2 separate regions of the Homo sapiens genome follow, and region 2 is linked to region 1. The links are contacts of gene promoters, found by promoter capture Hi-C in blood cells and fetal thymus (Javierre and others, 2016). All regions are on one chromosome and are shown on one strand. Each heading gives the region's core, a stretch centred on a gene start or on the middle of the fragment in contact. The rest is flanking DNA. Distances are from core to core; before and after follow the strand shown. Region 1 holds the start of GLUD1 (glutamate dehydrogenase 1). Region 2 has its middle 2.7 kb from the start of EXOC6.

The links. Contacts are between HindIII fragments. The CHiCAGO score rates a contact against its expected background, and 5 or more counts as called.
Region 2: a fragment that was not itself captured here is called in contact with the fragment with the promoter of GLUD1 in region 1 in 1 of 17 cell types (fetal thymus); the score reaches 8.4 in fetal thymus.

The regions. Positions count from the first base shown.
Region 1 is chr10:87,092,832-87,096,666 of GRCh38, reverse strand. GLUD1 (glutamate dehydrogenase 1) reads left to right here and starts at 1,824. Exons shown (of 13, transcript NM_005271.5): 1 at 1,824-2,342. The coding sequence starts at 1,898. It overlaps SHLD2 (shieldin complex subunit 2), which reads right to left and starts at 1,461. Exons shown (of 10, transcript NM_001330112.2): 1 at 1,419-1,461. RefSeq lists enhancers at 811-870, 3,275-3,812 and silencers at 913-1,170, 1,091-1,790, 1,911-2,050, 2,251-2,590. The HindIII fragment of the contact is 4,292 bases long and covers 306-3,835 here.
Region 2 is chr10:92,843,881-92,847,715 of GRCh38, reverse strand. It overlaps a transcript of EXOC6 not described here. Among named protein-coding and RNA genes, the nearest start is that of EXOC6, 2.7 kb to the left of the region's middle. The HindIII fragment of the contact is 3,318 bases long and covers 199-3,516 here.

The sequences.
Region 1 (3,835 bases), core at 575-3,074:
CACCCAAGTACACTGAGACCGCTAACGCTAGTAATGTGGTGTTTGGCAGCTAGTTTTAATGACTGTCATTAGAGCTTTATTTTTTATTTTCTTTTTATAGAGACGAGCCCAGGCTGGTCTTGAACTCCTGGCCTCAAGCGATCAGCCTGCTTTGGCCCCCAAAGTGCTGGGATTACAGGCGTGAGCCACCGTGCCAGCCTCGTTAGTTTGAAAAGCACCAAAAGCTATCCATAGGAATGTGAACTTTAGCATTTCCTATCAAGTATGTATAAATACATAACTGAACCCTCATACAGCATAAAGCTTATAAATCATATACTGAGGCCAGGCGCGGTGGCTCACGTCTGTAATCCCAGCATTCTGGGAGGCCTAGGCGGGCGGATCACTTGAGGTCAGGCGTTGGAGACCAGCCTGGCCAGCACAGCGAAACCCCGTCTCTACTAAAAATGCAAAAATTAGCCGGGCGTGGTGGCGCGGGCCTGTAATCCCAGCTACCCCGAGGCTGAGGCAGGAGAATCGCTAGAACGAACCCAGGGAGGTGGAAGCTGCAGTGAGCCGAGATGGTGCCACTACACTCCCGCCTGGGCGACAGAGCAAGATTCCATCTCAAATAAATAAATAAAATAAAAAATAAATCATATACTGAACCATTTAACAAATACATATATTCCTGAGAAAGAATTTCCTGGGGGCATTATCGCATTTCTAGTTTCCTTATTTTAGACTATTTCAGAGGGAGATAGGGTCTCCCTCTGTTGCCCAGGCTGGGGTGCAGTGGAGCTATCGTAGCTCACTGCAGCCTCGAACTCCTGGGCTCAAGCCATCCTCCAGCCTCGACCTCCCAAAGTGCTAGGACTAAAGGCGTGAGCCACCGCGCCGGGCCGGAGCCTCTGTCTGCAAAGGTGAAGCAGTCAGTACTGTGGGGCGACACAACCACGACGTGCGTAACTATGCGATCTCCACACTGCGGAGCAGTTGAACGGGACAATAAAAGCTCGCGTGGTGAGAGCTTGTGGGCGAGTGACTCCCTTCCAGCTCACGCCAGCCACGCATAATCCAACTCCGGGTGCCACGCCGCTCTCTGCAGCCCTGGCTGGTGACGCCGAGCCCTCAGCCCGGCCTTACGCGGCGGCGGCTCTGCCTCGCTTTCCTGCCCACGTGTCAGCCCCTGCACGCCCGGCCCCGGCCTGAGGCCGCCAGAGGACAGGCCAGGGTGGGCCGCCCGTTCCGAGGGCGCGCGGGCGGAAAGGAGGGGCGCCCGTGACTCACATGACCCGGTCCCCGACCAGACCGCCAAGCCTCACCCACGCGGCGCTCGGGGGGACTCGGCCTCTGAGCGCCCTACAGAGGCCAGCCCCCGACCCCGACCTCCCTGGGCTACCCCCAACCCCCCTGAGGGACCCCCGCGGCGCACATACCTGAGAGCCCCGCCGGAGGCGGGTGCGGCCTCCGGGCAAATCCGGCCGCCCGTGGGCCCGCCCCGACCCGCCCCGACCCGCCCCGACCTTCCCCTCCCTGCCCCTCCCGTCCGTTCCCCTCCACTCTCCTCCCCGCCCTTCCTCTCCCCTCCCCTCCCTTCCCCACTGGCGCGCGAGCGTGCGCGCCGAGCCCGCCCGCGCCTGCGCGCCCCCGACGCCCCGCCGGCGCGCGCTGCCGCCAGCGAGGCCCGGGGAGGCCGCGGCGGAGGCGGAGGCCCGGCGCCCTGGGCGGCGCCCTGTCCCCGAAGTCCGTCCTCCCCGTTAGGTGGCGAGCGCCCGAGGGGAGGGGACAGCCGGGCAAGCAGGAAGCTGCGGCTTAAAAGGGCAACCCGCGCGGGACCCTTCCTCCCTAGTCGCGGGGAGTCTGAGAAAGCGCGCCTGTTTCGCGACCATCACGCACCTCCCCTCCGCTTGTGGCCATGTACCGCTACCTGGGCGAAGCGCTGTTGCTGTCCCGGGCCGGGCCCGCTGCCCTGGGCTCGGCGTCCGCCGACTCGGCCGCGTTGCTGGGCTGGGCCCGGGGACAGCCCGCCGCCGCCCCGCAGCCGGGGCTGGCATTGGCCGCCCGGCGCCACTACAGCGAGGCGGTGGCCGACCGCGAGGACGACCCCAACTTCTTCAAGATGGTGGAGGGCTTCTTCGATCGCGGCGCCAGCATCGTGGAGGACAAGCTGGTGGAGGACCTGAGGACCCGGGAGAGCGAGGAGCAGAAGCGGAACCGGGTGCGCGGCATCCTGCGGATCATCAAGCCCTGCAACCATGTGCTGAGTCTCTCCTTCCCCATCCGGCGCGACGACGGCTCCTGGGAGGTCATCGAAGGCTACCGGGCCCAGCACAGCCAGCACCGCACGCCCTGCAAGGGAGGTGAGCGTCGGCCGGGCCCCGTCCCGCCCTCCCTGCCTCCCCTGCGGCCCTCCCCTCCGGCCTCCTGCCGGTGCGGGGCCGCTGCTCAGCCCAGCCCAGCCCAGCTGGAGCGGGCCGGGTCCCCGCCCGGGTCACCCCGCCTCGGATGTGGCCGGCTCTGTGGATGGTGATTTTTCCGCCTTAAAATCATCATGCGATTGGCCTGCCCCCTCCCCCGCGCCGTCACCCCGGGCCTCTGTATATGCTGATCTTGCATGCAGAGTAGACGCTGCACCGGTCTCCTTTTGGTCCCGGTGTCTGTGTCACACACGGCGGGTCCTGCCGAAATGCACTTCTAGGAAAGGGAATGACCTGCCCGTGTGATAATGCCTCGTCAGTGTTCTTGGGCTTTTGTGAGTCTCCCCTAAATGCAAGCTGTCAAATTATTTTCTGGTATTTGTTCACTCCTGTTCCAATAGTGACAGATGATATCCGAACATAGAAAATGACTTGGCTTCTAAGTTTGAAATCTAGACAGTTTTATTAACCAAAGGAATTTACTAATCACGCGTTAATCGTTTCAATTAAGTAATTTTCCCATTCTGACAAGTTCTGTTTTATACCAAAAAAAAGGAAAAACACAAAAAAATCACAAGCAATGTAATATCTCTGACAAATAAACACCTGGCGTCCTGACAGTAAATTTACAGGTTGTAGGCTGCGGATGGCCAGCCAGCCAATGGAATGAAATAGCTCTGGGGGTGTGTACTGGTCCTGGCTAGCCCTGAATTTGAGCTTCAGGAAAAATATAGTACGTGAAGAAAGGGGTCAGATAATGTTTGGTAGTCACTGGGTTATCCTGTGGTTTAAATCATTTAATGTCTGTAGATTTGGCCTCTGTAGTCAGATTGCTTTCTTCGAGCAAATAAGAGCTTTTTTCCCCCCAATACATTGCATCATACCTCTTTAGTAACATAAAATGGAAAGGACAAACCACTTTTGTCTACTGTAAAAAAGAAAAATTATATGGAATAAAGAGCCCAGGGAGGCGAGGAGTCTTGTTGGAGGTGGATTGGCTGAGAAGCACAGAGGATGTTGGGCTAGACCCATGTCTCAGTAAACCTGGTTCTGTGGTCTTTCAGTTATGCCCGCTGACTTATGAGGATTTTTAGAAATCCTCTCTGTACCGGAAAAAACTTGAGCGGTGCTGGTGTTCCCAGCAGGGGGGACAAAGGTTGTTTTTAAAGATTTACTAAATTTGCATTGACCCCGCCCACTTCTAGGACTTAACTTTGGAGCTTAATTATCCCCTAGCTCTGGTTGCCTCAGCCAAAACCAATGTTTGAACCACTTTGACCTCTGATTTCCTTTCTAGCTTCAAAATTGTATAAAATGTACACACCGTCAGTCTCCTACATTTGCCTGCCTTCTTCCTACCACTCCCTTATTATCCAAACCAGGAAAACAAGTTCAGACTCCAAAGAAAGGCAAATAAGGATGTTGGAGGAAGTTCA
Region 2 (3,835 bases), core at 608-3,107, 5.8 Mb before region 1:
GAGAGAGGCAGGGAGGCTTGGACAAAGGTATCAGTGTAGAAAAAAGTCGTGCTTAATGACATGTTTGTGGGACACTGAGTAAACCAGTTTGTCATGATCAAAGCAGGGAGGAAGGAAGACTAAACAGGAACAGAATGGAAACCTAGCCTGAGGAACAACTACTTTCTGCTCTACATTAATCCAGGGCTTTGAAAAGCTTCCCTTTGAGTCAACCAAGCTCTTTATCCAGCTGTGTAACTCACTCACCCTTAGTGAGCTTTTACTTGAAACCTACCTCCAGCCTCCTCCCCACAAACATCCTGGGAGGTGGTATTGTGCAATAGTTAGAGCATGAGCTCTGAAGACCAGTGTCCGAAGACATTAATTCTTGGATTAATATCACTTGACAGCTGTGTGACATTGGGCAAGAACCTAGTTCTTTTATATGTCAGTTAAATGACTGTAAATGACAATGGCAGTGTCTGCCTCATATTGCTGTCCCATGGTGTATGAGTTTTCCATTGTTGCTTTAACAAATCACCACAAATTGAGTAGCTTAAAATGACTCAGACATATTATCTTACAGTTCTGTACGTTAGAAGTCTGTCACAGGTCTCACTGGGCTAAAAATCAAGGTGTCAGCATGTCTGTGTTCCTTGCTAGAGACTCTGCGGGAGAATTTGTTTCTTTGCCTTTTCCAGCTTCTAGAGGCCACCCACATACCTTGGCTTGTGGCCCCCTTCCTCCATCTTCAAAGCTAGCAGCATTACATCTCTCTGACCATTCTTCTGTGGTCACATCTTCCTCTGACTCTGACTTAGGCTGGAAAAGATGCTCAGTTTTTAAGGACCCATATGATTAGAGTGGACCCAACCATTTAATCCAGGATAATCTTCCATCTCAGGGTCCTTAACCTTAATCACATATGCAATACCCCCTTTGTCATGTAAAAATAACATATGCACAGGTTCCAGGGATTAGAATGTGAGCATCAGTGGGACCCACTGCCTACCAAACTTAGGAAGGGCCCTATAAAACATTGCTAATGCCCTCCTTCCTATTAATCTGGAATCTTCAGAGCAATGGATTCCAGCTATACACATCCATTGAGCTAAGACAGTCTTCCATTTCCTGCAGAGAGACCTAGCTTTTCATTCTTTTTGTGGGAGGGGATAAAATTTGTCTTCTTTTTTTTATGTTTCAGTTTCAATTTTCAAAAGGTTATTTTCCCCTCTCAAGAACTTCTTAGGTCGAGCACAGTGGCTCACACCTATAATCCCAGAGCTTTGGGAGGCTGAGGCAGGAGGATTGCTTGAGCCCAGGAGTTCGAGGCTGCGGTGAACTATGATAATGAGCAAAATGAGGAGAGCAGGGCATGTGGCACAGGCCAGTTTCCTATTTGACCAATGTCTCCAGCTGGGGAATTACTTTCCTGATCATTCCTTCCCTAGAACTCTACCCCTTTTCTTCACCAGTCCTGATACCTTTTATTCCAAAGCTGGCTCCAAGTGCCCCTGCTCTGGGAAACCAGCCCTGCTTAGGCACTCCTCAGGCCAGCCCTGTTTCAACACCTGCCCATAGAGATTACTTCAACATAAGCAGCAGTATCTTCCCCGAAATTCAAGTGAACATGGAAGGAAGTCCATTTACCACTTCTCCTTCTGAAACAGTTTTTGCTGGTTCCCTCTGAGACTTCTGACAGTTCCGTGAGTACCTGGAGGTTTTAGCTAAGAATTCAAAGCTAAATGTCCTAAATAACTAATTGCACATTTGTTTTGTTTGTTTGGTTGGTTTTTTCGAGACAGAGTTTCGCTTTTGTTACCCAGGCTGGGTAACAATGGCGTGATCTTGGCTCACTGCAACCTCCGCCTCCTGGGTTCAAGTGATTCTCCTGCCTCAGCCTCCGGAGTAGCTGGGATTACAGGCACGTGCCACCACGCCCAGCTAATTTTGTATTTTTAGTAGAGACTGGGTTTCTCCATGTTGGTCAGGCTGGTCTCAAACTCCCGACCTCAGGTGATCTGCCCGCCTCGGCCTCCTAAAGTGTTGGGATTACAGGCGTGAGCCACCGTCCCCGGCCCTAACTGTACATTTTAATCATGGACATAGATATATCAAATATGTCAATGTGGGGTGGGGGAAGCCTATCCAAGGGATAAATGATTTTTTTTTTTTTTTTTTTTTGAGATGGAGTCTCTCTCTGTTGCCCAGGCTGGAGTGCAGTGGTGCGATCTTGGCTCACTGCAACCTCTGCCTCCCGCTTTCAAGCGATTCTCCTGCCTCAGTCTCCTGAGTAGCTGGGATTACAGGTACATGTCACCACATCCAGCTAATTTTTGTATTTATAGTAGAGATGGGCTTTCACCATGTTGGCCAGGCTGGTCTCACACTCCTTCCCTAAAGTGATTGCCCTGACTTGGCCTTCTGAAGTGCTGGGATTACAGGCATGAGCCACCACGCCCAGCCCCAAGGAGTGAATGATTTAACGTCTGCACTGAGAAGGTTGCGGAGTAGCAGGGCACAGACAGGCAGATTGCAGATGCATGTGGAATTATTTTTTGGCAGTGGATATTGACTTCCAGAGATCAATCCAAAATCTCTTTTCAGGACTCCTGGAAGAAGAAAGATACACCAGGAAGACCAGCAGGACAGGAGATGCATTTTGTGTCCAGTATAAAAGTAATTGGCAAAGTAAGGATTTGACTTGTAAATAAACTCTTAGTCATTAGGAACTTAACTTTGCGCCTTTTATCTACAGACTAATGACCTGTCTTGGGAAAGCGCCTCCCTCAGAATGAGGTTGTAGAGTGCAACTGCTCTGGTCTGGCATTTAACTACTTGAATTCAAATTCCAACTCATCTCTTACTAGATGTCAGGCCTCAGGGAGTTACTTAACTTGACTAAGGCTCACGTTCTTCAAGTGTGAATTAAGGACAATAAGAATCCCTAGCTCACCAAATTATGTGAGGATTAAAGAAGATAATATATGTATTATGTTTAGCCTAGAGCTCAATCAACATTAGCATTGGCGACTAGGGTTATCAGGCATTTGCTAGTAAGCCAGAGAGCCCAGCATTTTAGCCTCCTCTTTGATAAAATAAAAATAAAAACCAGACACATAAATGTTCTTTTTCCTAATCATTAAAAAAAAACCTGATTGTGTATCAGGGTTTTCTGCATGTTTGGTGGATGTAAACCAACTGAAATATGTTTCCTGCTTTTGTAGAGAGGGAAACAGGAACATGTCTTTGGGTTGGATTCTTGGTTCCAGACCCATTTTAGTGAACCCTCTGGATCCTGCGCTTTTAAGGCAAGCACCTTTCGTTGTCCTTGGGAGCAGTGCTCACTCATCCTTGGAAGCACATATCATGGTGGTGAACAAATCACTGAGTCTGTCTCCATTTCCAGGAACTGCTCCTACATCAGGCACAGGGACGATGCCTGTATTGTTCACTGCCCAGCCCAGTGCCTTGCATATAGTAGAGGCTCAATTAATAAGTGAATGATCCACATGCAAATACTTGTCGTATTAAGCTTAATGTTGTAAATGGCATGTTTTTCTTTTTTTTCCTTTTTTTTTTTTTCTGAGACACAGTCTTGCTCTGTCACCAGGCTGGAGTGCAGTGGCGCGATCTCGGCTCACTGCAACCTCCGCCCTCCAAGTTCAAGTGATTCCCCTGCCTCAGCCTTCTGTGTAGCTGGGACTACAGGCACGTGCCACCACGCCCAGCTAATTTTTTTTTTTTTTTTTTTTTTTTTGAGACAGAGTCTCGCTCTGTCGCCCAGGCTGGAGTGCGGTGGTGCAGTCTCGGCTCACTGCAGCCTCCACCTCCAAGGTTCAAGCAGTTCTCTCCC